Linked DNA regions of Homo sapiens: all the other regions are linked to region 4. Evidence: promoter capture Hi-C in human tissues and cell types (Jung and others, 2019). All regions are on one chromosome and are shown on one strand. The core of a region is centred on a gene start or on the middle of the fragment in contact, and the rest is flanking DNA. Distances in the headings are between cores, read along the strand shown. Region 1 overlaps OSBP2 (oxysterol binding protein 2). Region 2 overlaps OSBP2 (oxysterol binding protein 2). Region 3 overlaps RNF185 (ring finger protein 185). Region 4 holds the start of MORC2 (MORC family CW-type zinc finger 2). Region 5 overlaps OSBP2 (oxysterol binding protein 2).

What was found. Contacts are between HindIII fragments. The study calls those that stand out against the background at their distance.
Region 1: a contact is called between a fragment that was not itself captured here and the fragment with the promoter of MORC2 in region 4, in 1 of the 25 tissues and cell types used here (dorsolateral prefrontal cortex).
Region 2: a fragment that was not itself captured here is called in contact with the fragment with the promoter of MORC2 in region 4 in 2 of the 25 tissues and cell types used here (liver and mesendoderm cells).
Region 3: a fragment that was not itself captured here is called in contact with the fragment with the promoter of MORC2 in region 4 in 2 of the 25 tissues and cell types used here (IMR-90 fibroblasts and lymphoblastoid cells).
Region 5: a contact is called between a fragment that was not itself captured here and the fragment with the promoter of MORC2 in region 4, in 1 of the 25 tissues and cell types used here (thymus).

Annotation. Positions count from the first base shown.
Region 1 is chr22:30,789,321-30,794,842 of GRCh38, forward strand. The region is part of intron 2 of OSBP2 (oxysterol binding protein 2); the gene reads left to right. Among named protein-coding and RNA genes, the nearest start is that of MIR3200, 61 kb to the left of the region's middle. The HindIII fragment of the contact is 4,158 bases long and covers 1,166-5,323 here.
Region 2 is chr22:30,757,864-30,763,626 of GRCh38, forward strand. All of the region lies in intron 2 of OSBP2 (oxysterol binding protein 2), which reads left to right. Among named protein-coding and RNA genes, the nearest start is that of MIR3200, 29 kb to the left of the region's middle. The HindIII fragment of the contact is 5,000 bases long and covers 1,376-5,763 here.
Region 3 is chr22:31,185,697-31,190,996 of GRCh38, forward strand. RNF185 (ring finger protein 185) reads left to right here. Exons shown (of 7, transcript NM_152267.4): 2 at 1,351-1,574. The coding sequence starts at 1,399. Among named protein-coding and RNA genes, the nearest start is that of LIMK2, 24 kb to the right of the region's middle. The HindIII fragment of the contact is 6,585 bases long and covers 1-4,751 here.
Region 4 is chr22:30,967,524-30,973,313 of GRCh38, forward strand. It overlaps MORC2 (MORC family CW-type zinc finger 2), which reads right to left and starts at 1,251. Exons shown (of 26, transcript NM_001303256.3): 1 at 299-1,251. The coding sequence starts at 366. It overlaps TUG1 (taurine up-regulated 1), which reads left to right and starts at 1,742. Exons shown (of 3, transcript NM_001396518.1): 1 at 1,742-4,256; 2 at 5,332-5,790. The coding sequence starts at 1,834. The coding sequence ends at 2,295. RefSeq lists an enhancer at 1,653-1,982 and a silencer at 2,013-2,262. The HindIII fragment of the contact is 8,152 bases long and covers 1-5,291 here.
Region 5 is chr22:30,731,356-30,737,055 of GRCh38, forward strand. All of the region lies in intron 1 of OSBP2 (oxysterol binding protein 2), which reads left to right. MIR3200 (microRNA 3200) reads left to right here and starts at 202; the gene lies at 202-286. The HindIII fragment of the contact is 9,479 bases long and covers 1-5,700 here.

The DNA of each region.
Region 1 (5,522 bases), core at 1,995-4,494, 180 kb before region 4:
GAGAGAGGGGGCCTGAATCTGGCAAGCAAGTGGGGGCCACATTCTCTGGGCATTCAGAAGCCAGGATTTCATAGGCCATGAAATCTGCTGTCTTTTAGAAGTGGGCTCCGGTCTGCTTTCTCTACACAAGTTCAAATTTTCCACCATTTCCAGGAGCCTGCAGCTAACACAAGTGAATGAGTGATTTCCTCGTCATTGACCCCATAAACTCAGATACTTGTAAAAGAGAAGTTAACTTACAGAGCATATAAAAATCAGAAAAAAACGGGAAGAGCCTACGGACAGTCCGGTACAGCTGTGTATGGATCACCCATTGGAACAAGCATTTCTTTAGGCTTCCAAGGCTGTTGGAGGACCCTAAGAGGGAAGAAAATGGTTTAGCTGGAGATGGTTTGGGTGCAGACTTTCCAGAAGGCAGTACCAGTGACCAGAAGGTGGACAGACTTCAATTCCAGCCCCAAGAGCACAGGCAGGGAGAAATGCTCTCTAAGAAGGAGGGTCTGCCCTTGAGATTCTTTGTCTGCAACAGCTTTGCATCTTCCACCAGTAAAAACTTTGTTCCCATTTTAGATCACAGTTTAATTTTATTTTGTGCCATGCTCTTTGAGGGTAAGAGGAATGTGAATCTCGGTGAAAACATGTGTTGTTTCTTGTGTACCCCTCTATACATGTGACAATGGCTATCATCTGAAAGAAGCAATGTGCAAGGGGAGAGGGTGACCCCATCTCCGTGCTACAAGGTGACTGGGCTGCAGAAGGAGGATGCAGCCCCTTGGGTCAGCAGATGGGTTTTGTTGGAGTGGCCCATTGGGTGTGGGTGTCTTGGGCTGGAGGTGATGTGGATGACGCACAGGGCTTATTCTTTGTGCCCTCTCAAGCTTCACCTTTGGCCCTGGCCTACAGGGATTCCGGGTTCAGGAAAGACTTTGAATCTGCAGCCACATGAAAATACATGGCACTGCTGTGGACCCACTTTTTAAGGAGGGGGGGGCGGGGAAAGCATAGAAAAGATTTGACAGCTTGAAACTACATCAGCCAGTTTGTAGAGGTTTTGGCCACTCTTCTAGTTTCCATACACATGATCCGTGATGGATTTGGAGGGGCATGGGAAAGAGGACAAAGCCAGAGGCTCCTCATTAGTCTTGGGAATTCAAGGAGACTTCAGTTTGGTAGCTGCACTTGGAGAGATTGTGTGTGTGCGCACACACATGTGGTTGCTCCAAGGCAGTTTCTACTGCTGCTTGCTCATGTGTCTGTAGCTTCCAGGCAGTTTTTCAGCAAGACTGTAAGCCAGATGCAAAAGCAAACCTGAAGAGATATGTCAAACTGCATTAAAAAAAAAAAAAAAAAGAGGGAGCATACTTTATAGGTTAAAGGAAATTTTTTTGATATGTGGTAATTTACTGAGAATCCACTGACAAATGTGGTTAAGGGTCATTTCAGGACCAATAAGCTTTTGGATGAACAATTTAAAAATCCGTTAAGGGATATTCCTTCCCGTATCTCTATGTTTGCTTCATCGAATCACGTGGTTGCCCTGAAGGGGAAATAGGATTCATTTGTTGGTTTTTAAATTCCTTGCTTGGAAGGATTTGGACAGTCAAGGCCAATGTGATCCCTGTTTCAAACTTCTCTTTTTATTTTTCTTTCATTTTTTATTTATTTATTTATTTTTGAGACAGAGTTTCTCTCTTGTTTTGTCACCCAGGCTGGAGTGCAGTGGTGTGATCTCGGCTCACGGCAACTTCCGCCTCCTGGGTTCAAATGATTCTCCTGCCTCAGCCTCCCAAGTAGCTGAGTGCCCACCACCATGCCCAGCTAATTTTGTATTTTTAGAAGAGACGGGGTTTCACCATGTTGGCCATGATCTTGAACTCCTGACCTCATGTGATCCACCCGCCTAGGCCTCCCACACTGTTGGGATTACAGGTGTGAGCCACCATGCCCAGCCAACACATCTCTTTTTCAGGCTGCAGGAGCTTATATATTGGGGGATTCTTCTTTTTTTTTTTTTTTTTTTTTTTTTGACAGAGTCTGGCTCTGTCATCCAGGCTGGAGTGCAGTTGTGTGATCTCGGCTCACTGCAACCTCCACCTCCCAGGTTCAAGCGATTCTTGTGCCTCAGCTTCCCGAGTAGCTGGGATTACAGGCGTGTGCCCCCAAACCTGGCTAATTTTTGTGTTTTTAGTAGAGACACAGTTTCACCATGTTGGCCAGGCTGGTCTCAAACTCCTGACCTGAAGTGATCCGCCCGCCTCGGCCTCCCAAAGTGCTGGGATTACAGGCGAGAGCCACCGTGCCCCGCTCATATTGGGGCATTCTAAATAAAATCAGTCCTGTCTCTTTAATGTATCCGTGCCACAGTTTTGTGAAATACATTGTCAATCTTAATTCTGCTTTGCGGATAGAGAAAAATGAATTGTTGAATGGAAGAGTGTCTTAGCTAGGAAGAGCTGCAAGATAGGAAGGTCATCATCATCTCTCAGGGCTAGACCCAGGCCAGTGGGGATTTCAGGAGCCTTTATAATAAATGGTTTAAGAACCCTCTTATTCTGCCCCCACATCAGTGGGTATACAGATTATTATCACTCAATGGGTATATAGATAAGTATTACCAAATATATAGAGTCAGAGAGATTATGATAAAATATCATAATCAAAACAGGAAAAAACAAAGTATTTAGGAACCGCATACAGAAGTTTCAATCAGGCCAGGTGCAGTGGCTCATGCCTGTAATCCCAGCACTTTGGGAGGCTGAGATGGGTGGATCACTGGAGGTCAGGAGTTCAAGATCAGCCTAGCCAACATGGTGAAACCCCGTTTCTACTAAAAATACGAAACATTAGCCAGGTGTGGTGGCACATGCCTGTAATCCCACCTACTCAGGAGGCTAAGGCAGGAGAATTGCTTGAACTCGGGAGGTGGAGCTTGCAGTGAATTGAGATCGCACCACTGCACTCCAGCCTGGGCGACAGAGCGAGACTCTACTGTCTCAAAAAAAAAAAAAGAATTATCAATCACTATGGTTTGCATGATAAGAAATAGTTTATGAATACAAGTATTTTTTTCATCCACCATCTGCAGTATTGTTTACAGAAGAAACTGAGGTTATAAACCTTCCTGTAAATGCTTCCTGCAGACATCTACTTACAGGCCCACGGGTAAAAAGTTTGCATTTATACTTTTTAATGAATAGTCTCTTTAGGGTTTAATTAGTCATTGTGTCTATGCATGAATCATTCATAATCTGGTCTTGCCACCAGCATATGGCAATTAAAGTCAGATGAATAGAAGTAATATTCTCAAGCAAAATGAACTGTACTCTTCGGCCAATTATCATTGGTTGGCAACATGTTTTATAGAGATAAAAGTTGATTGGCAGCTCTTACAAGTTTTGGTTTGTCTTGTCTCTTCGGGAGAAAGTGAACCCTATGAAAAGCACAAGCCTCCGGTCTTCCACACCAGCACTGTGAGGGCCACAGTCTCTCATATTCCCCAGCCAGCCTAACACTGGGGAGGTGGTCTGAGCTCATGTGAGTAATGTTAATAATCACCACTATGTGTGCCTACTGTGTGCCTGGCATGTTTACATGCATTATGGGTCATCTTCCAAGTGACTTGTCCACAATCACTGAGTTAGTAAATGGCAGAGCCTGGATTTTAATCCAAGACTATCTGATTCCAGGTTTTCTGCTCCATCCAGTCCACCACATTGTCTCAAAACTGAAGATAAGAGTAAATTAGATTGTAGTTCAGCTAAAAGGTTGACTTGAAAAAGGATTTAGGAGCCGGGTGCGGTGGCTCACGCCTGTAATCCCAACACTTTGGGAGGCTAAGGTGGGCGGATCACTTGAGGTCAGGAGTTCAAGACCAGCCTGGTCAACATGGTGAAAACCCATCTCTACTAAAAATACAAAAACTAGCCAGGTGTGGTGGCAGGTGCCTGTAATCCCAGCTACTCAGGAGGCTGAGGCAGGAGAATCACTTGAACTCAGGAGGTGGAGGTTGCAGTGAGCTGAGATCACACCACTGCACTCCAGCCTGGGAAAAAAGAGGATTTAGGTCTGGGTACACTGGTTCACACCAGTAATCCCAGCACTTTGGGAGGCTGAGGCTGGACGATTGCTTGAGGACAGGAGTTCAAGACCAACCTGGGTAACAAACATCTCTACAAAAAAACTAGGCTGTGCACGGTGACTCATGCCTGTAATCCCAACACTTTGGGAGGCCAAGGTGGGAGGATCACTTGAGCTTACCAGTTCAAGACCAGCCTGGGCAACATGACAAAACCCCATCTCTGCAAAAAAATACAAAAATTAACTAGGCATGGTGGTATGCTCCTATAGTCCCAGAGCCAGACCTTGTCTCAAAAAATAAAAAAATAAAAAATTAGACCCACGTGGTGGTGCACACCTATAGTCCTAGTCATTTGGGAGGCTGAGCCCAGGAGTTTGAGGCTGCAGTGAGCTATGGTTGCACCACTGCATTCCAGTCTGGACTACAGAGTAAGACCCTATCTCTAAGAAAAAGTGGTCTAAGTTGTACACCCATGTTCATACAGCATTATTCACAGTAGCCCAAAGGTGGATGCAACCCAAGTGTTCATTTATGATGAATGGATAAACAAAATGTGGTACATCCATACACTGGAATATTATTCAGCTTTTAAAAGGAAGGAAATTCTGACACATGCCATAACATGGACATCCTTCTATCTCATTTTTAAAATTATTAAGCAAGCACTTAAAAATTACTTCAAGCCAGGCATGGTGGCTCACGCCTATAATCCAAGCACTTTGGGAGGCCAAGGCAGGAAGATCACTTGAGCCCAGGAGTTCAAGACCAGCCTGGGCAACATAGTGAGACCTGGTCTCTAAAAAAAATGTTTTTTAATAATTTAAAAAATAAATAAAATTATCTTATTCTCTCCTCCTCTATTCATTTTTTTTTTTTTTTTTGAGACGGAGTCTCACTCTGTCGCCTAGGCTGGGGTGCAGTGGCACGATCTCGACTCATTGCAACCTCCGCCTCCCGGTGGGTTCCAGTGATTCTCCTGCCTCAGCCTCCTGAGTAGCTGAGATGACAGGCGCCCGACATCATGTCCGACTAATTTTTATATTTTTAGTAGAGACAGGGTTTCACCATGTTGGTCAGGCTGGTCTTGAACTCCTGACCTCGAGTGATCCGCCCGCCTCAGCCTCCCAAAGTGCTGGGATTACAGGCGTGAGCCACCACGCCCACCCTGTACCTTCTTTTTTTAATGAAGGAGATTATAATATGAATATTTGATATATTATAATCTACTTTAAGTTATTAATTTGCTACTTCCCAGACAATTTAAGAAGCTAACAACAGTTAAATATCTTCCAGGAGGCTGAGGTGGAAGGATCACCTAAACCCGGGAGGTGGAAGTTGCAGTGAGCCGAGATTGCATCACTGCACTCCAGCCTGGGCAACACAGTGAGACCGTCTCAAAAAAAAAAAATTCCCGTTACTTTTCGTATTATTGTTATTTTATGTT
Region 2 (5,763 bases), core at 2,626-5,125, 210 kb before region 4:
TGGGTGTCACCTTGAGTCCTGCCCTCCCTGATCCCTCATGTGCAGCTTGTCAGCAGATCCTGTCAGTGCCAGACCTGAGCACTTTCACATCTGCCCACTGCCCTCCATCTGCCTGGCCTCCAACCCAGTTTCACTATCTGACCTCCCAGAGTCTGGACAGCAAGAGTGAGTCTTTTAAAATCCAATTCTGCTCAGTTCCAGTTCCAGGTAGGATTAAGTGAGAAGGTTTCACTCTGCAGCTATGAAACATGGACAGGGCCAGGCACAGTGGCTCATGCCTGTAATCCGTGCACTTTGGAAGCCTGAGGCAGGCCGATCACTTGAGGCCAGGAGTTCGAGACCGGCCTGGCCAACATGGTGAAACCCCATCTCTACTAAAAATACAAAAATTAGCCGGGTGTGGTGGCGCACGCTTGTAGTCCAGCTACTGGGGAGGCTGAGGTGTGATAATCACTTGATCCCGGGAGGAAGAGGTTGCAGTGAGCCGAGATGGCACCACTGCATTCCAGCCTGGGTGACAGAGCGAGACTCTGTCTCAAAAATAAAATAAAATAAAATGTGGACAGAATGCACAGAGCAGCTATTTGAGCACCCTGAAAATTAAGTAGCCACAAGCAGACTAGAGAAGACCAGAATCTGAGGTAACACCAAACAGGTGGTGAGGTTACAATTTTTTCCCTCCAGTATCTTCTAGAGTGGACTCAGGGGAGACCCAGAAGTGAGCAGACAGAGAAAACTCCTGGAGAAGCCCTCTAGTTCAGGCTCAAGGAGGAAAGGGTCCCCTGTCAGTGATAGCAGTGGCGATGAGAGGCCTGCAGGTACCAAAAACTCAGAGGAATCCATGCACACCAGTAGGAAGAGCTCTGGGCCCAAGAAGTGAGGGAACCCCTGTTCCATTTTTCTCTCACTCTTCCTACCACTTAGCCCCCGATATAGGTGTGGTGGTGGGAAGTGGGCAGCCAGAGGACTGAAACAGAGCCCAAGAGAACCAGAAAAAAACAGGAAATCACAGAAAGAGAACACCTTGGGAAAGTGACCCCATAACGTTGTTTTCATGAACTCCTGGCTTCACGTTCAAGCCGCACATGGATGGATCTGATCCTAAACAGCATACTAAAGATTTTGAGAACTGAACTTAAAGCTGCATGAATACCCACGTCCCTGTGGCCACTGGCTGGCACACATGTGGAACAGATCCAACTAGTACTGCAAAGGGCCGGGCGCAGTGTAACCTGGCACTTTGGGAAGCCGAGACAGGTGGATCACTTGAGGCCAGGAGTTCGAGACCAGCCTGGCCAACACGGTGAAACCCCGTCTCTACTAAAAATACAAAAATTAGCCAGGCGTGGTGGTGCACACCTGTAATCCCAGCTACTCGGGAGGCTGAGGCAGGAGAATCGCTTGAGCCTGGGAGGCAGAGCTTGCAGTGAGCCGAGATTGCACCACTGCACTCCAGAGCAAGACTCTGTCTCAAAAACAAAAACAAATAGTACTGCAAAGGCTTTGAAAATGGAACAAACAGTGAAACCACCACCCAGAGACGGCTGGTCACTACCTGTGGCCTTAACCCAACTTATTTGATAGACTGCTAAAATGAAAATATCAAATTACCAACATCAGGAATGAAATAAACAATTAATAGCACTAACAAACATAAAAGGACAATACTACAAAAACATAAAATAGATACATAATACATAAAAGGAATGCTACAGACAACTCTGCTGACAAATTTGACAACTTGGATGAAATGAACCAATTCTTCAAAAATCAAATTCTAACACTTGCCCAAGATCAAATCCATAAACTGAATAATCCTATAACTATTAAAGAAGTTGCATTCATAGTTTAAAACACTTCAAAAAAGAAGTCTTCAGGCCTACATGATTTCACAGGTAAATTTTATCAAATATTTGAAAAAAGAATAACACTATTTCCACACAATCTCTTCCAGAAAACAGAAGAGGAATGAGTAATTTCTTTTCTTTTTTAATTTTTCTTTTCTTTTTTTTTTGAGACAGTGTCTCGCTCTGTTGCCCAGGCTGGAGTGTGCAGTGGTGCAGTCTTGGCTCACTGCAACCTCTGCCTCCCAGGTTCAAGCAGTTCTCCTCCCTCAGCCTCCTTAGTAGCTGGGATTACAGGCATGTGCCACCACGCCCAGCTAATTTTTTTTTTTGTATTTTTAGTAGAGACAGGGTTTCACCATGTTGGCCAGGGTCATCCTGAACTACTGACATCAGGTGATCCGCCTGCCTTGGTCTCCCAAAGTGCTGGGATTACAGGCGTGAGCCACTGCACCCGGCTTTTTTTTTTTTTTTGAGACAGAGTCTTGCACTGTTGCCCAGGCTGGTCTCAAACTCCTGACCTCAAGTGATCTGCTCGCCTTGGCCTCCCAAAGTGCTAGGATTACAGGAGTGAGTAATTTCTAACTCATTTATAAGGACAGCATACCCTGATACCAAACTGAACAAAGATAGTGTAAGAAAAGAAAACTTCGGACCAATATTTCTCATGAGCATAGATGAAAACATCTTCAACAAAATATTAACAATTTGAAACCAGCAATACAATAGAATATTACACCATGATCAAGTGGATTTCATGCTAGGAGTGCAAGATGAGTGCAAGATAGGTGCAAGATAGGTTCCATGTTTGAAAATCAATAAATGGGGCTGGGGGCAGTGGCTCACACCTGTAATCCCAGCACTTTGGAAGGCCAATGCAGGCAGATCACTTGAAGTCAGGAGTTCAAGAGCAGCTTGGCCAACATGGTGAAACCCTGTCTCTACTGAAAATACAAAAATTAGCCAGGCATGGTGGTGCACACCTGTAGTCTCAGCTACTTAGGAGGCTGAGTCAGGAGAATCGCTTGAACCCTGGCAGGGCGGAGGTTGCAGTGAGTGGAGATCGCACCACTGCACCCCAGCCTGGGCAACAGAGCAAGACTCTGTCTCAAAAAAAGAAAAAAAAAAGAAAATCAATATAAATGGAATCATAATATTAACAATCTAAGAAAAACTACATTATAATATCAATTGATACAGAAAAAGGCATTTGACAAAATTTAACATTATTCATGGTAAAAACTCTCAGCAAACTAGGAGACTCCTCCACCTGATTAAGGGCATCTTCAAGAAACTGACATCATATGTAGTGATAGAAGACTGAATGCTTTACTTTCCGCCTAGGATCAGTAAAGTCAAGGATGTCCATGCTCACCCCTCATATTCATCCTAATACTAGCCAGTATTATAATGCAAGAAAAAAGAAGTCAAAGGCACTCAGATTGGGAAGAAAGAAACAGAGCTATCCCTATTTGCAAGCGACATGATGGCTGTGTAGAAAAATCCCAGGAAATCTACAAAAATATTTTTAGAGTGAGTTTAACAAGGTCACAGAATACAAGGTCAGTACATAAAGGCCAGTCATATTTCTGTGTATTAGCAATGAACAATTGGTAACAAAAAATTTTTAAAAATCACTTACAATGACCCCATGAAATACTTAGATATAATTATAACAAAACAAATATAGTATCTATATGTAAATAGTGTTAAATACTGATGAAATAGAAGACCAAAATAAATGGAGAGACATACAATGCTCATGGATCAGAAGATTCAAGAGAGTAAAGACGTCAGTTTTCCCTTGACTGATCAGTAGCTTGAATGCAATTCCAAAAAAAATCCCAGCAGGACATTTTCTCAGCATAGACAAACTTATTATACATTTATATGAAAAGATAAAGAAATTAGACTAGCTAAAGCAACTTTGAAAAAGAAGAATAAAGGTGGAGTAATTACTCAATTTTAAGACTTATCATAAAGAAACAAGACAGTGTGATGTTGGCAAACACTATATAGATTAATGAGATAGACATATACATTAATGGAACAGAATGGAGAGTCCAGAAATGGGCCCAGACAAATATGGTCAGATGGCTTTTGACAGAGGTGCAGAAACAATTTAATTGAGAAAGGTTAGTCTTTTCAACAAGTAGTGTTGGAACAATTGGACATCCATATGCAATAAAATGAATCTTGATTTATACTTCTTATTTATATAAAATTTAACTCAAAATGTAAACCATACAACTATAATACTCCCAGCAGTTTGGGAGGCCGAGGCGGGTGGATCACTTGAGCCCAGGAGTTCGAGACCAGCCTGGGCGATATGGCGAAACTCCATCTCTACCCAAAATAGAAATATTAGCCAGGCATAGTGGTGTGCAACTGTAGTCTCAGCTATTTGGAGGCTGAGTCAGGAGAGAATCATTTGAACCTGGGAAGCAGAGGTTTCAGTGAACCGAGATTACACTACTGCACTCCAGCCTGGGTGACAGAGTGAGACTCCATCTCAAAAAATAAAAAATAAAAAATAAAATAAAAATAAAATGCAATTTTGGGCCGGGCGCGGTGGCTCACGCCTGTAATCTCAGCACTTTGGGAGGCCAAGGCGGGTGGACCACGAGGTCAGGAGATCGAGACATCCTGGCTAACACGGTGTAACCCTGTCTCCACTGAAAATACAAAAAATTAGCCGGGCGTGGTGGCGGGCGCCTGTAGTCCCAGCTACTCGGGAGGCTGAGGCAGGGGGTGAACCCAGGAGGCAGAGCTTGCAGTGAGCTGAGATTGCACCACTGCACTCCAGCCTGGGCAACAGAGCAAGACTCCGTCTCCAAAAAAAAAAAATGCAATTTTGATTTATGTCTCTTCTCTGGCTCCTCTTGCGCTCTAGACCCATCCAGCTTCTGCTGTCTTCACTGGCACACCATCTTGCTGCCAGCCAGCGTGAATGCTGTACCTCTTGTTGGCAAGGTCTGTTCCCTAGTATCCAGCCCCTTCCCACACCCTATTTTCCTCAAGTCTGTTTACCCTCCAGGGAGAGGCCATTCAGGAAAGCCTTCTCTGAGCCAGCCTCCTGCCTGGGCCAGATGTTTGCTCCCAGGTGTTTGCTCCTTGGCTCAGCCCCTCGAGCATGGTAGCGTAGCAGTTAGTCTGAGCATGGGCTTCCTAGAGCCTCAGAGTCCCCGCTTGTCAGTCCCCTAGAAGCTTCAATTCTGTGCTTCCCAGGGTCCCTTCAATCAAAGATTTCTAAGTCAGTGGAAGCAGAGATGCTGGAGCCAGCCTGCCTGGGTTCAAATCGTGGCTCCCACACTTACCCACTGTGTGACCTTGGACAAGTTGCTTGCCGTCTTTTGCATCATTTCTCTCCTTTGTAAAATGGGTTTCATGATAGAACCAACTCTTAGAGGTGCTGTGAGGATTAGTTTAGATAATGTGTGAAGAGATCTTGGCACACGGCTTGGCAAACACTCGACTAAAGTAAGCTGCAGTTATTGATAGTCACTTTCGCAGCTTTAAAATAATACAGGTTCCCAAGAAGTCCCCTGCCCTGCTAAAACAGAATGAGAATGACTTTTGGGTGCAGAGGGTATTTGTATTTTTTTTCAAAAGCTCCTTGAGTGGGATTGGCAGATTCAAAATATACAAACACAGGTTGGCCGGGTGCAGTGGCTTACGCCTGTAATCCCAACACTTTGGGAGGCTGAAGTGGACAGATCACTTGAGGTCAGAAGTTCAAGACCAGCCTGGCCAACATGGTGAAACCTGTTTCTACTGAAAATACAAAAATTATCCAGGTGTGGTGGTGCATGCCTCTAATCCCAGCTACTTGGGAGGCTGAGGCAGGAGAATTGCTTGAACCCAGGAGGTGGAGGTTGCAGTGAGCCGAGATTGAGCCACTGCTCTCCAGCCTGGGCAA
Region 3 (5,300 bases), core at 209-2,708, 220 kb after region 4:
TCTGAGGTGATGAGGGTGGCCAGATAAGGCTCCTGACAGATTGTTAATGTGCATCCAGAATTCCTGGGTATCCCTTGGTGTTGGTTTTATCCTCTTTCTTGTTCAACTCCTGGCTGGGTTCTTTGACTTGGAGGTGGTGGTCAACAGTGGTCTGTTTATACCAGCATTTAGTGGCCAGTTTAGTATGTAGTGGTACGGTGCAAACAGGGTGTCCATGAGTCCCAGTCTCAGCCCCACATTAGTCAGCTAGCCAAGGTAACTGCAGTTTCCTAAAGAAATTGGACCAGATCAAGATTGTCCAAAACATAGTATGAGTGTGCCAGGTGATGTCAGGTGGTATGAGGGTAAACTTTTCATTTGTTACTTTTATATTAACCTTTTTACTTATGGTAAGTATTACTGGTTTTCCATTTATTACAGTGACATAAACCTCTTCTTTAAATGTACTGAGGCTAAAAAGTTGATATATTTAGATAAAATAAGGTGAATAGTATTCCAATGTGGCAGAAGGAGGATTGAAAAAGATTGCAATATGGAAGACCTTGGACCAGATGATCTTTCTGGTCCTTATTAGCTTCCTATCCTTTCATAGTTACAGGAATTTCTTAATATTCTGGCGTATGGGCTGGGCACAGTGGCTCACACCTGTAATCCTAGCACTTTGGGAAACTGAGGCAGGTGGATCACCTGAGGTCAGGAGTTCAAGACCAGCCTGGCCAACATGATGAAACCCCATCTCTACTAAAAATACAAAAATTAGCCAGGTGTGGTGGCAGGCACCTGTAATCCCAGCTACTCGGGAGGCTGAGGCAGGAGAATCACTTGAACCTGGGAGGCAGAGGTTGCAGTGAGCCAAGATTGTGCCACTGCACTCCAGCCTGGGCGACAGAGTGAAACTCCATCTCTTAAAAATATATATATATGTTCTGGCATATGACAATCACAACCTTCCTGCCTCAGCAGATTCACCCATCAATATAGAGGCTGGACAGCCTGAACATTCCATTTAATGTAGCATGTATTTGTCACCTGGGTTGATTGTCATGGGGGAATCTAAAGACAAGTGAGACAAGGTCCTGGTTCCTGTGGAGAACCATCTGGAGGCTGCTCTGTATTTGGTGGAGTTTGCGTATCTGTGTGATATATTCTGGACCATATTCATGAGAAGTTTCTGGGTCACTGCCCTTTGGGTAGTGCCCTACAACTCTTGTCTTCTGTAGCGCTTTGGGAAGTCTGCTCAGGGATTCAGTCATAATCAGCTCTGGAGCCTAGAGAAGACAGGAATGTTGGCATGGAAGCTGGGGGGAGAGGGCTGCAGAAATGGACAGTCAAGAGTTCTCTGCCTTTTAGGATTTCCCTGGGGAAAGTCTTCACTCAGAGCTTCGCTGACAGCCAAGGATGGCAAGCAAGGGGCCCTCGGCCTCTGCATCTCCTGAGAACTCCAGTGCAGGGGGGCCCAGTGGGAGCAGCAATGGCGCTGGCGAGAGCGGAGGGCAGGACAGCACTTTCGAGTGCAACATCTGCTTGGACACAGCCAAGGATGCCGTCATCAGCCTGTGTGGCCACCTCTTCTGGTCAGTACCCCTACTTCCACCCCAGAGAGCACATTGCCAAGTTTGGAAAGCCTGTGGCCCTGGGTGGTTTGGAGCAGAATGCTTCCTGCTCACTTTGGGAATACACTCAGGCTCAAGGGACAAGAGACCTGAGTTCCCATCCCAGCTCTGCTACCAATGAGCTGGATGACCTTGGGCAAATCCTGTCTCCACTCTAAGCTCGTTCTCCCCATCTCTAAAGTAATAATACTTACCATTTAGTGAGCACTTACTACCTGCTACTTGCTGTGCTGAGCCTAGAGGCAGTATAGCATAATGGTTATAAGCAAGGACTGTGGAACTGGGCTTCCTCCTTTTGAAGCTTGACTCTGCCACCTTCCTGTTTGACCTTGGACAAGGTACTTACACACATTCTGCCTCATTTTACAGGGTCGTTTGCAAGCATTAAATGACTCAAAATATGTAAAAGGCTTAGAAGAGCACATAGCTTGCAGTAAATACTATGTGTTAGCTATGACTATAATTGTTACTATATTTTATGTTTATATATAGATAGATACACTCATCAAAATGAAGTGTCAAGGTCGGTGTCTGTTCCAGCCTTGACGGTTACAGGAGCCCTTTCTGGCTCTGAGAACCTAGGTGCTAGGTGAAGGTCGGATTTTGGTTTTTTGTGTGTGTGTGTGTGTTTTTTTTTGTCTTGAGATTTTGAGCTGAACCTTGAAAGGTCGATCAAAAAATGCTAGGTAAAGGCGAAGGGTGTGTGTGTCACTCCAAGGCAGGGAGTTTCTAGGGACAGGCACATGCACTGTTGGACTCATCTGAGACCCTTGAGGCTACTGTATACCTCTCACAGCACTCTGGATGAGGGTCTGGGAGTGTTAGGAAAAATAATGGTTACAGTAGTGTTGAGCCAGATTATCAAACCCAGATTCGACTAAAGGGACATAGAGGTAATGAATATTTTTGAGCAGAGAAATCGTGTGAAGAAAAGGCCGTTTAAACAATATTTAAGGGATTTTAAGTTGGCAACAGCGTAAAACATCAATTTATTGGTGAATAAATAGAATGGAGCAGAGATTTTTGTTCTTGAGGCTCTTGCCCTAATTACCATCTTGTGTAAAAGCTGTTGTGATCCACATTCTCCTAGAAATTCAGGATACTTCAGGGTATCGTAAAACCAGGACTTGAAATGATTGACAAAATTAAGAATTCAAAGACAGGATACCCCTGATTTGATTATGTGAATGTATCAAATTATCACATATAACATAAAAAATGTGTACAGCTATTATGGCTGGGCTCAGTGGCTCACACCTGTAATCCAAACACTTTGAGAGGCCATGGTGGGAGGATCACTTGAGCCCAGGAGTGCAAGATGAGTCTGGGCAACATAGTGAGGCCCCACTATGTTTAAAACTAGTCAGGCATGGTGGCGGTACCTGTAGTCCTAGCTACTCGGGAGACTGAGGTGGGAGGAAGGCTTGAGCCCAGGAATTCGAGGCTACAGTGAGCTATGATTGTATCACTGCACTCCAGTCTAGGCGACAGAGAGAGACCCTGTCTCTTAAAAATATATATATATTCTGGGCTGGGCGCGGTGGCTCACGCCTGTAATCCCAGCACTTTGGGAGGCCAAGGTGGGCGGATCACAAGGTCAGGAGATCGAGACCATCCTGGCTAACACGGTGAAACCCGTTTCTACTAAAAAAAAAAAAAAAAAAAAATTAGCCGGGTGTGGTGGAGTGCACCTGTAGTCCCAGCTGCTGGGGAGGCTGAGGCAGGAGAATGGCGTGAACCCGGGAGGCAGAGCTTGCAGCGAGCTGAGATCGCGCCACTGCACTCCAGCCTGGGTGATGGAGCAAGACTCTGTCTCAAAAAAAAAATGTGTGTGTGTGTGTGTGTGTGTGTGTGTTTGTGTTTGTGTATGTATTTATTAAATTTTATAATTATAAATTTTAAGATTATAAATTATGTATTTTATGTATATATTAACTATACATATATTTAAATGTACAGCTGTTGTATATCTTTTTTTTTTTTTTTTTTTTTTTTTTTGTGGAGACAGCCTTGCTCTCTTGCCCAGGCTGGAGTACAGTGGTGCAGTCTTGGCTCACTTGCAACCTCTGCCTCCTGGGCTCAAGTGGTTCTCCTGTCTCAGCCTCCCAAGTAGCTGGGACTGCAGGAATGCACCACCACGCCCGGCTAATTTTCTTTTTGTATTTTTAGTAGAGATGGGGCTTCGCCATGCTGGCCAAGCTGGTTTCAAACTCCTCACCTCAAGTGATCTGCCCACCCCGACCTCCCAAAGTGCTAGGATTACAGGCGTGAGCCACCATGCCTGGCCCTGTGTCAAATTTTTTTTTTTTTTTTTAGAGACGAAGTCTTGCTTTGTCACCAGGCTGGAGTGCAGTGGCACAATCTCGGCTCACTGCAATCTCTGCCTCCCAAGTTCAAGCAATTCTCCTGCCTCAGCCTCCCGGGTAGCTGGGATTACAGGTGCACCCAGCTAATTTTTGTATTTTTAGTAGAGAGAGGTTTTCACCATGTTGGCCAGGATGGTCTCGATCTTCTGACCTCGTTATCTGCCCGCCTCGGCCTCCCATAGTGCTGGGATTACTGGTGTGAGCCACCATGCCTGCTATCAATTTTTTTTTTAAAGGCAGAATGCCATTGGAAAGAACACAGACTCTAAAATGAAACAGATGCTTCCAGTCTGGATGGTGCATCCCTGAGCAAATCTGCTAGCTTCCCTGTACTTTGGTTTCCTCATCTGTAAGATGGAGATGATGGTACTGCCTCATAGGTTAATGTGACCGTCCAGTGACATTAAGAAATGAAAAGGTATTCAGCCACAGCGTGGCACACAGTACAGTCATGCAGTACATAATGACATTTTGGTCAACAATGGATTACATATCCAACAGCGGTTCCATAAGATGATGATGGACCTGAAAAGTTCCTATAATCTAGTGATTTTAAAATGTTATAGAGCAGTGCGTTACCTTTTCTGTGTTAGGTATGTTGGATTTTTTGTTTGTTTGTTTGTTGTTTTTTTGAGGAGTCTCACTCTGTTGCCCAGGCTGGAGTGCAGTGGCGTGATCTTGGCTCACTGCAACCTCTGCCTCCCAGGTTCAAACGATTCTCCTGCTTCAGCCTCCCGAGAAGCTGGGATTACACATACGTGCCACCACACCTGACTAATTTTTGTATTTTTAGTAGAGACGGGGTTTTACCATGTTGGCCAGGCTGGTCTTGAACTCCTGATCTCAGGTGATCCAACCGCCTCAGCCTTCCAAAGTGCTGGGATTACAGGCGTGAGCCACCACGCCCAGCCTGGTTTTTGGTTTTTTTTGAGATGGAGTCTCACTGCGTCACCCATGCTGGAGTGCAGTAGCACTCCAGATTGAGTAGCACGATCTCAGCTCACTGCAACCTCCACCTCCCAGGTTCAAGTGATTCTCGTGCTTCAGCCTCCTATGTAGCTGGGATTACAGGCATGTGCCACCACACATGGCTAGTTTTTGTATTTTTAATAGAGATGGGGTTTCACCATGTTGGCCAGGCTGGTCTCGAACTCCTGACCTCAAATAATCTGCCCACCTCAGCTCCCAAAGTGCTGGGATTACAGGCATGAGCCACCACACCTTGGCTCTATGTTAGGTATGTTTAAATACACAAATATTTACCACTCTGTTACAGTTACCTATGATACTCACATGCTATTCAGGTTTGTAGCTTAGGAGC
Region 4 (5,790 bases), core at 1-2,500:
TGTTGGATTCCTATAAACACTTGAATGAAACAACTCAACATATTGACTTCAAATAACTAAAGTTTGCATTTAGAAAATTTTGATCCAATAAACAAAAATCAGATTCTTCTGGATTAGCAACAAGTATTTCACTGATCTCAGTTCTTCAATACAGAGCTCAAGATATCCAGTGACACATTTCACTCCAGTGGGATACATCTCAAAAAGTGAAAAAGCAAAATTTTCTGGGGAAACGATTTCCATATAATATCAAGGAACGAGTTACTGGTTACCTCAGTGGCACCTAGAGGATACTTACGAATTTGTGTGCAGATATTCAAAGGTTAGCTGAGCTCGATTCAGACTGCTGTAATTTGTGAAAGCCATGACTGCAATAAGGTCTCCAGCCCTTCACCCGCTAACTGGGAAATATAACCTTATAATGATATCGATTTCCCAGGATTCTGTCCAGTAAAGCTTCAGTAAGTCTGTGCTCCTTAATGACAGTTAAAGTAACCTAGTAGCTATCCAAAATATATGCAGAGATGTTTAAAACTACAATTTCTTCAAGTGTTTTTTTTTAATCTTCTCAATGATTTATGATGTAATATTTTGGAAGGAACTATGTCATAAATCTGTAGCTTTAAGGAGCTTTTAGCATTAAGTTGCGATAGCTCAATTCAGACAATCTGAGTCTCGTGTGGATGGTCCTGAAGGAGATGGTCCTTGAGTGGGTGGTTTATGACTGCTCCATCTTCATGTTCTTCCAGCCTTTTTTGGTTCCCCGAAATTTCCTGTCAGGAAATTTACCAACGCGGAAATTTACCCACTTCTGTCAGAAAACTGATCAGCCATGTCTTCGCCACACGTGATGCCAGGATTCTTAAACAGGCCCAAGACCGGAGACCAAGATGTCGACGGAGTGTTATATGGCGCAAGTTGCAGCTTCACCACCTCCCAAGTGAAAAAGCTCCTAGGCACTCACGATTTCTTTTTTCAAAGCCGGACCAAACCCAGTTCAGGGTGGTGGTCAGATTACCTCACACTTGGCCCACATAAACACCTCACAAATGACCCGCCCACAGCACCTCGGGCAGGCCGCGCCCCGCCCCCACGTCCCTCAGACAACAGCCTCAGCCTCCCAGGCCCTTCCCGGGCCTCGGTCCCGTGGCCGCCTCCCCACGAAGAGGAGCTACTCCCGGCTTCCAAGGACCGGATCGAGGGCAGTGGCGAGCGCACCACCTGACCGGGCACTACCCGGATCTCACAACTGCCTTTGTCCCTCCCCGCGGAATTGGAACCCAACAGCCGCAGAGCGCTCTTGGAACCATGTGCTGCTGCCGCCTCCGCCGCCGCCGCCGCTGCCTCCGCCGCCGCCCGCGCGCCGCCCGCGCGCCGCGCTAGTTGAGATGGTGACAGGATTCAGCAACACGAAATTCGGCGTTTAGAGCTGCTCTGCCGCCGCCGTCACAGACACCACAGCCACCGCTTTGTCTCCGATAGTGCACACAGCCCCGGCCACCTCGCACACTCCCCGACGCCCCAAGCCCCCGAGGCCTCCGCGGAGCATTCAGCCAATCACAAAGCTGCAGCTCCTCCCGCCCCCGCCCTGATGTACAGCCTCCTGATTGGCGGGCTGCGTGTCCCCATGTGACCGGATCTTGGTTGGCCGGTCCCGCCCCTGTCACGTGACAGCGTGCGCCTCTCTTCCTGCTTTCCTGACCCTCTCCGCCATTTAAAGAAACAGTACCGGGGGCGGGCCGAGCGACGCAGCCGGGACGGTAGCTGCGGTGCGGACCGGAGGAGCCATCTTGTCTCGTCGCCGGGGAGTCAGGCCCCTAAATCGAAGAAGCCCTGGCGCGCCCTCCCCCCCTCCCGGGTCTGGTAGGGCGAAGGAACGGGCGTGCGGTCGATCGAGCGATCGGTTGGCGGCTCTTTCTCCTGCTCTGGCATCCAGCTCTTGGGGCGCAGGCCCGGCCGCCGCGGCGCGCGCCCGGTGGCCGTTGGCGCTCGCGCCGCGTCTTTCTTCTCGTACGCAGAACTCGGGCGGCGGCCTATGCGTTTGCGATTCGACGAGGAGTCGTCCGGGTGGTCGGCGGCGGCGGGCAGCTGCTCCGCCCCGCTCCGGGGGAGGCGGCGGCGGCAGCGGCCGCGGGATTTGGAGCGGCCGGGGAGGCGGGGGTGGCCGGGGCCGGCTTGGAGGCCTGGCGCCACCCTTCGGGGCCTGCAAGGACCCAGTTGGGGGGGCAGGAGGGGGCCGGAGGATGGTTGGTTGTGGGATTTCTACTTTGCCTTTTCCTCCTTATGCCGCCTTAGTGAGGGGCGGGAGCTCTGGCGGCAGCCCCGGGGTGGGGAGACGAGCTCCGGAGTCGGAAGAGCTGGGTTTTCTTCCGGGCCTAGCCACCAGTTGGCGGAGTGACCTTAGGCGAGTCACTCTGTAATTTGTCTGCGCCTCAGTTTCCTCCTCTGCCTATCAATGTGTGTGGGGTTGAAATCGCTTTGTAAACTATAAAGCGTGGGTGTACGTAAAGGATGGTTATTGTTTATAATTTTTTTTGAGTTGTAAGAAAACTTAGCAGTTCCCCAATCCTTGGGTTTTGAACCTGGGAACCTTGGATTGGAGTTGGGGATCCCCAAACTTCCTGAAATTGTGGGAATGTGCGGTTTGGGGGAATGATGGGAATTTGTGGGAATGTGCGTTTTAGGGGAATGATGATCCATCGCTAGCAAGTTTTCCAAGGGGGCTGTGACCCAGAAGAGTTAAGAATCACAATTTCTTCATGCTACAGAGAGGAAACTGAGGCCTAGATGTCATTTGGGACCCTTCACAACCATTTTGAAGCCCTGTTTGAGTCCCTGGGATATGTGAGCTGTTTCTATGCATAATGGATATTCGGGGTTAACAACAGTCCCCTGCTTGGCTTCTATTCTGAATCCTTTTCTTTCACCATGGGGTGCCTGAAGGGTGGCTGATGCATATGGTACAATGGCACCCAGTGTAAAGCAGCTACAATTAGGAGTGGATGTGTTCTGTAGCATCCTATTTAAATAAGCCTATTTTATCCTTTGGCCCGTCAACTCTGTTATCTGCTGCTTGTACTGGTGCCTGTACTTTTCTGACTCTCATTGACCATATTCCACGACCATGGTTGTCATCCATTACTTGATCCTACTTTACATGTCTAGGCTGTGTGGTTGGTGGTGAATAGGCTTCTTTTTACATGGTGCTGCCAGCCCAGCTAATTAATGGTGCACGTGGACTTTTAGCAAGCGGGCTCACTGGAAGAGACTGAACCTGGCATGGAATTCCTGAAGATGTTTGGGGTTTTTTTCTTTCTTAATCGAAAGTTAACATTGTCTGAAAAGTTTTGTTAGAACTACTGCGGAACCTCAAAATCAGTAGATTTGGAAGTGATTCAAAGCTAAACTTTTTCCTTGGCCCTCCTTGTGTTCTAATTGCTTGCAAGTGTAATACTAGGATGTCCAAGATGCCAGTTTTTGCTTCTTTGTTAGTTGTCAGCTGCTTTTATCAAATTTCAGGCCATTATCCAACAAACACTATAAAAATGTTTGAACAATTGGATTTCAAACATTTTCGTTTTGTGGAGTGGTGCTCACCAAGTGGTACAGCCCTAAGCAAGTGAACACAAACACATTTAAGTGTATTTTGTCTGATTAGATGTTAGCCAGTTATGCTATTTCATTCAAATGTCTGAAAAAATCAATTGACTATTCCCTTTTCCTAAAGGGCAGAGACAGATAATCTCACTTCCAGAGAAATGACTTGGAGAAAAAAAAGTGTTGGTCTTTTTGCTCTTTTGTAATTAAATCCGGATGTACCTCAAAAGACTTAAGACTGTGGTGATAAGATGCTTTCCTCAGCAGAAAGGAGGGAAAAAAAACAACTGGAACTCAAAGCTTGAAATTCTGTGGCAAAACATGAGATGTCCAGGATTGGAGGTTGAAAAGATTTCACTACAGTGTTCTGCAATAGTTGGAGCAGATAACTTTCAGTGTAGCCACAGCCATGGACTCCAGATTTCCAGATTTTCAAGACCTGGACCTGGAACCCGAAAGAGCTTGTCACGATGCGGCAGGAACACTGGAGGTAGATTTTTTTTTATTTTTGAATTTTGGGACTGTTGACCTTGCTGTGAGAAAAGAGACAACGACTGAGCAAGCACTACCACCAGCACTGTTACTGGGAATTAGAAGACCTGAGTTTCTGTCCAGACCCTCAGTGCAAACTGAGGATGCTCCATCCAAAGTGAATTATGGTACTTGCCATTTTCCAAAATGCCTTATCCTTTACCATCTCTGCACTTTTGTTCATACTCTCATTCTACTTTGGAACTGCTGCTCTGTGGCTTTTCATCTGTCAAAACTGCCATTTTCTCAGTATCCAACTCTTATGCCCTCTTTTCCATGAGTCTCCTAACTAGCCAGAATAGAGCTTTAAAGTTTTATGACATTTCGTTATGTATCCTCTATCTGTATACAAAATCCTGTAAAATAGTTACTTGCCTGCATTTACTGTCTTTGCAGATAGCAGACTCCTTGAAAGCAGGGTCCTTGTTTAGTGCATCTTTGCCCACATACACCACAACATATCAAGATGCATTTATTAGGAAGGAGGAGTTTAGAGAGCAGGCTATCAGAATAACCACTCAGTAAGTGTTTTCTTAATTGCTATGTGATAACTTACATTACTCTTAATGAGGAGAAAAGTCGCTAGATATGGATCATGTTTATGTTTTAATGTTTTTTAATTCTAAATTTTGATCTAGGGAGCCCTCAGACATAAGGAGAAACCAATATGTTGAATGATGGGGTATTACATACAGAAGGACCAAGACCTTATTTTCTCCTACTTAAGATGGAATCTTGTTAAGATGAAAGGACAGCTTTTTAAAAGGAGAAGGTCATAAGACAGTTTGAGGAAGGCATTGGAAGAGGAAGAGGGGCAATGTCTCCTTTGTTTTATTGTTGGTATATAAACTTAAAATCTCAGTTCTTTTTATGGCACTTGTGGAGCCACTTCCTCTCCTCACCAAAAAATGCCCAGTACCCTGAATCCGATCAAATTACTCTCCTAAAGTATAAGGCTTAGTTTCTGTGTGCTGCTTCGCGAGACAGTTCCCACAAATCGAGAGTGTTAATCAGACTTTTGTGTTTTCTTTTTTGGATTGCTGTTGTTTGTTTTCATTTATCATTTGTCTTTGCCTAAGCCAGGCTCATCAAGAATTAACAGCCATCAGGCTGCCGATGTGCTGACAGCAGACCCACTTAGAGTCCTGTGTTTGTAATTCCATGCATTTGTTATTTTACCTGTTTTGTCCCTGCCCCTTCTAGTCCTGTGCCTCCTGATTGCTGAGTGTTCACCTGGACCTTCTGACTACCTTCCCTGTGCTATTCCATCAGCCTACAGACCTGGTACCTGGATTTTTGCCCGAGATGATTCCTACCACCTTACTACTGACGAAGACACCCATTCCAGTGGACCACTGTGACCCAGGAGGCATTCAGCCATCATGATGTGGCCTTTACCTCCACTCCTGTCTTGTTCTACCCAGATTCAGCACAGCCCTTTATAGTGAAGTCAGAGTCCTCAAGCCAAATAGCTAAAGCTGTTTTATCACAACAAAGGCCTAGTTTGTTCCATGAGTGTGCATTTCATTTCTTCAGTTAAAGCCTTCAGAGACACACAATAAATTTGGACCAGGGGATTTTTTAGTTATTAATGCTCTCTGAAGAAAGGCAACATCTTTTTGAGAGCAGCATTGGACCACACCCCACAATCTCAAATGATTG
Region 5 (5,700 bases), core at 353-2,852, 240 kb before region 4:
CTTGCCTGGCACATGGACTTTTCCAGAACTTACACAAGAAGAAAATACACCTCAGAGCCATCCGTGGAGGGAAGAGTGGGGGGAGATTCATCTGACCTGTTCTTTTCATATCCTATTTTCCACGGTGGCATTTCATACAAGCCCAGAAGTGGAGGTACGGCGTGACCTGGATGAGGCATCATCGAGAGAGACAAAGAAGGAGGTGGTCGAGGGAATCTGAGAAGGCGCACAAGGTTTGTGTCCAATACAGTCCACACCTTGCGCTACTCAGGTCTGCTCGTGCCCTCCCATGATATCAGCTCTCCTACTTCAATGTGGGAATCTCCGTTTTCCTTGGAGAACAAAAACATCCTCATTCCTTCCCTGAGCAGGAAGGTACAAATCCCATCAGTGACAGAAGCCATTTCCTGGTGCTGGCCCACTGGGGTTACCAGGAAGAATAAAGCAAGAAGGTTGTGAAACAAGGTCATCTGCTGCTGCTGTGGCCGGTCCTGGTGTGCTCATTGTTACTCATCATTTCCCTCCTGCACTACCCACCCTAGACCCTCTCCACTCTCCGCCAGCACTCTGGCTGGTCTGTGATGTTTGCGCTGAGTGGTCTGCATGTGTTGTTGGCCTTGCTCATTATCAGCCGTTACCAATCATGGAAATGTTAAGAGATACCGGTGCTAGGCACAGTGGCTCATGCCTGTAATCCCAGCACTTTGGGAGGCCAAGGTGGAAAGATCACCTGAGGTCAGGGGTTCAAGACCAGCCTCACTAACATGGTGAAACCCCATCTCTACTAAAAATACAAAAATTAGCTGGGCGTGGTGACGGGTGCCTATAGTCCCAGCTACTCGGGAGGCTGAGACAGGAGAATCACTTGAACCTGGGAGGCGGAGGTTGCAGAAAGCCGAGATAGCGCCATTGCACTCCAGCCTGGGCAACAAGAGTGAAACTCTGTCTCAAAAAATAAATAAATAAATAAAAATAAGAGATATCCCAAGGAGTCCTCTGGGTTTTATTCCAGACATTCTCCTCCCATTTCCAAATGGGCCACTCACCTAATTCCTCATGGCAATTAGGATCAGTGACCCCTGGCGGTAGAGTCACTCCCCTGGCAGTAGAGTCACTCCCCTGGCAGTAGAGTCACTCCCCTCTTTGTTGGTCACTGGCATGAGGAGCCGTAGGTGGCCAAGTGGTTGTGGCAGTGTCCAGATCAGTGGAATCTTTGTTTCACATTCCTCCCTTACCCCAGGACTAGATCCTCTAACCCAGCTGATCCCAAGTGTGTGAGGATGGGAAGCACACACCTTGCAAAGGGCAACCATGCGTGATGGTGAGCAGGGCCACTCCTGGACCTGTCTGCTGTAGCTGTGGGGGACATGGCACCAGATATCAGTTGTCAGCTCAAGGCATCCTGGAGGACAGAGGCTCAAACCTGAGGGGTATTTCTCCCTCGGTGTCCCCGCTAAGCCAGTAGGCCATTCCATTGTTTTGTCAGGCTCGCTGCCCCCTAGTGCAGCTGGGTTCCTGTGATTCCAGTGAATTTATGGCCAGGAGTCACTGGCACAGCTGCTAGGCTGAAATGGGCCACTTTGTATAAGGCTGTATCGAATGGAAGTCCAGGCCAGCACACGAGGCATTCAGTAACTTTGGACCATGGTGCTGCTGGAGGCACTACAGGCAGGGAAGGCAACCTCATTACCAAAAAGCACTTCCGTTTCATGAAGGATAAATTGTGTATCCCTCCAAGGTGGAAGGGGTCTGATATAGTTAGTGGCTGTCTGGCTCTTCCCAAGGATGGGCCATATCAAGGAGGGTTCCGTGTTGGTTTCTACTGCTGGTAGATCGGGCACTCAGTGGAGCCGCGAGATGAGCCTTGGTGCTGGGGAGGCAAAAGAGGAAGGAAAGCAAGGGGAGGATGCAAAGTAACATGAGGCTTCAAGACCTCGCCACTGCTTTGCAGCAAACTGTAAGGCTCACAGAGGCCACTCATGTTCTCTGGGCTCATGGACTTCTCTGGAAGGTTTGCAAAGATACCTTGGAGAGATCTGCAGGGGGGATAAATGAAGAGCATTTCCTGGCCTGGTTTCCATCCACTTCCCATTTCCCACTGCTCATTGTTTAACCTGTGAGTCACTAACCCTTCCATACTGTGGGTTGCAAAAATCCAGCTTGTCGGTGACCACTCAGGAAACCAGATTGCATACTCTGAGATGCAGTACTACTCCCAAGCCCAAAAATGCAGGGGCGACTTGGCTTAAATGGAGGAGAGAGAGAGGGGACGGAGGAGGTGCACCATTCTTAGTTGATGTACAAGGTTTGGGTCCAATACAACTATGTAAGTCGCTAACCATAGATGGTCTCCATGGCCTAAAAAGCAATGCATTAACTACTACAGGCTTCCAAGTTCTGATTGCTGGAATCCTTGACAGAGGTGAGAGTGTGACTGGGGTCATTGCGAGTATTATTTTGTTGAGAATCGGTGTAGTTAACTTAGTGGGATGTTGGTTGTGGTAAATTCTCTTGCAGTTAAATTGTACTGCAGATGTTTAGTATTTTGTTTATATTTGTTCTAAATCAGATATCAAAGTAATGCCTCAAAACATGTCTCCTTAAAAGTGGCAGAAAATACATTATCATTTTTTTTTTGAGACGGAGTTTAGCTCTGTCACCCAGGCTAGAGTGCAGTGGTGTGATCTCCATTCACTGCAACCATCACCTCTTGGGTTCAAACGACTCTCCTGCCTCAGCCTCCTGAGTAGCTGGGATTACAGACATGCACCACCAGGCCCATTTAATTTTTGTATTTTTAGTAGAGACGGGGTTTCACCATGTTGGCCAGGCTGGTCTCGAACTCCTGGCCTCAAGTGATCTGCCTGCCTCAGTGCTGGGATTATAGGCATGAGCCATCATGCCTGGCCACATTATCATGTATTTTGGATATGAGCCCTGATGAAACTGGGAGGCCTTAGATCATGGCTGGTAGTGAGGCCACTGAAGCTGCTTAGGGCTCAGTGAGACCAGATGGTTCTGGAATATTGCACACCTCCATAGCCTCTTGCGGGAGAGGAGTTACCACTGCAGCTTGCAGGGCCCAGGTCTATAGTGTACTGTGAGCAGGGCTTTAACTTTGCCACTGTCTGGACTATTGGACTTCCCTGGAAGCTTAACCTTCATAGAGAGGGTTACCTCAGCCAGGACTCACAGTGGGAGAAACAAAATCATTTATTTACAACATGAGCAGGTGCACTACTCCTAAACAACAATCTGGATTTTAGGATACATCCCTAAATTTTAGACCCTTTCAGGACTGAGTTTGAAGCCATTGAAAAATTTTTAAAACTGAATAAAAAAGGTAAAAATAATACCTTGGCTACAGGTTAAAAATGGATTGAACATAAAATATCTAAATGAAAGAGAAGAGCAGAGCTAAATTCTAAGACTAGCAAATGTATCAGATCTTGATAATTTTAAGGGTTGTTAGCCCCCACATTTATATATTTCACTGTATAATTCCTTCCAAATAATGTAGAAAGATAAAACTGAAAAGTTAAAGTAAGAGGCTGGGTGTGGTTGGTGGCTCATGCCTATAATCCTAGCACTTTGGAAAGCCAAGGTGGGAGGATAACTTGAGCTCAGGAGTTCAAGACCAGCCTAGGCAACATAGTGAGACCTTGTCTCTACCAAAAACAAAAAAAAATTAGCTGGCATGGTGGCACATGCCTATGGTCCCAGTTACTTGGGAGGCTGAGACAGGAGGATTGTTTGAGCGCAGGAGTTCAAGGCTGCAGTGAGCTATGATTGCACCATTGCACTCCAGCCTGGGCAACAGAGTGAGACTCTATTTCAAAAATAAAATAAAACCCTTAATAAAAAGTAACACTAACTAGAATGAGTAAAGGATCAATTTAGATTTGGATGCTGGGTGACTAGAAAAACTAATCTGCTATATTTTCATTTTCTGAAGTGCTCATGTTACTTATTCATATCTACCTGCTCTTGTTTCATTTTTATCAACTTCTATTTCATTAAATTGTTTCTTCTTCTTTTTTCTTCTCTTCTCTCTCTTTTTTTTTTTTTTTTTTTTTTGAGACAGGGTCTTAACTCTGTCACCCAGGCTGGAATGCCTGGCTAATTTTTGTGGTTTCTGTAAAGACAGGGTTTCACCATGTTGCCGAGACTGGTCGTGATCTCCTGGCCTCAAGTGATCTCCCACTTCACCCTCCCAAAGTGCTGGAATTACAGGCGTGAGCCACTGCTCCCCAGCCTATCCCCCTTTTACTGATGTTATTCTTTATCTTTGAGAATCCTAAACCTATTTATATTAAATACTTTTCATATTATTATGGCTGAAGCGATTCTTCTTCTTCTTCTTCTTCTTTTTTTCTTTTAGAGACAGAGTCTCATCTCACTCTGTTGACCAGGCTGGAGTGCAGTGGCATGATCTCGTCTCACTGCAACCTCCTTCTCCCAAGTTTGAGCAGTTCTTGTGCCTCAGCCTCCCGAGTAGCTGGGAATACAGGTGTGCACCACCATGCCCAGCTAATTTTTGGTATTTTTAAAAAATTATTATTTATTTATTTATTTTGAGTCAGAGTCTCTCTCTGTTGCCCAGACTGGAGTGTGGTGGCACGATCTCAGCTCACTGCAACCTCTGCCTCCCAGGTTCAAGTGATTTTCATGCCTCAGCCTCCCGAGTAGCTGGAATTACAGCTACACACCACCATGCCCAGCTAATTTTTGTATTTTTAGTGGAGATGGGGTTTCACCATGTTGTCCAGGCTGGTCTTGAACTCCTGACCTCAAGAGATCCACCCACTTCGGCCTCCCAAAGTGCTGGGATTACAGGTGTGAGCCACCATCCCTGGCCTGAAGTGATTCATCTTCTAAGCATTGAATTCATTGGCTTCTTTATTAGCATTGGTTTTCTTCACAGGTTTTGAATTTTGGTTTTCAGGCTCATCTCGACTGGGAGGTCTTCCCTCCCTCGCTCCCTCAGCCTCACCCACTCTTCTTTGTCTAGTGATTTTTAAAATGCCTTTACTTAGTCCCCTGGAGAGTCCCGTCTAGAACCAGATCCTATGATGGGGGCTTGGGGCTTCTGCCCTTGAGTGACATTGGGAATATCTCCCATCCAATCCCTGACCCTGGGCAGATGAGTTCAGGTTCTGGCTACAAGACTTTGCTATCAGCTGTGACCCTGAGAAGGTGATAGCAGCATTAAATTGTTAAAATTTTGAAATAACTTAGATTTACAGAAAAGTTAGAAAAATAGTGCAGACAATTCCTATATACTCTTTGCTTAGCTCCCCTTAGTGTTAACATCTTACCTCACCAAAGTACAATTCTCAAAACTAGAAAACTAACATCATTATAATACTATTAACTAAACTCCAAACATTATTCAAATTCCATTAGTCTCTTTTTTTCTATTTTATAATTCAATCCAAGATTCTGTATTGCATTTAGTGATTTTTCTGTGTCCATAATTTCATCTACTTTTGTTTAGGAATATCTGTCCTCTTTCCCCCATTTATTTAGTTAATGGGTTATAATCTGGTATGATCACTGCTGGGTAACTTCTAGTCCAGCCCTGATTTCATGCAGTGGCCTGGCTGCCATCTCCCACCCTGTGCAAGTCACTTCGATTCTCCATTTTTCCACAGGAACTTCTGGAACTCTTTTTTTTTGAGACGGAGTCTTGCTCTGTTG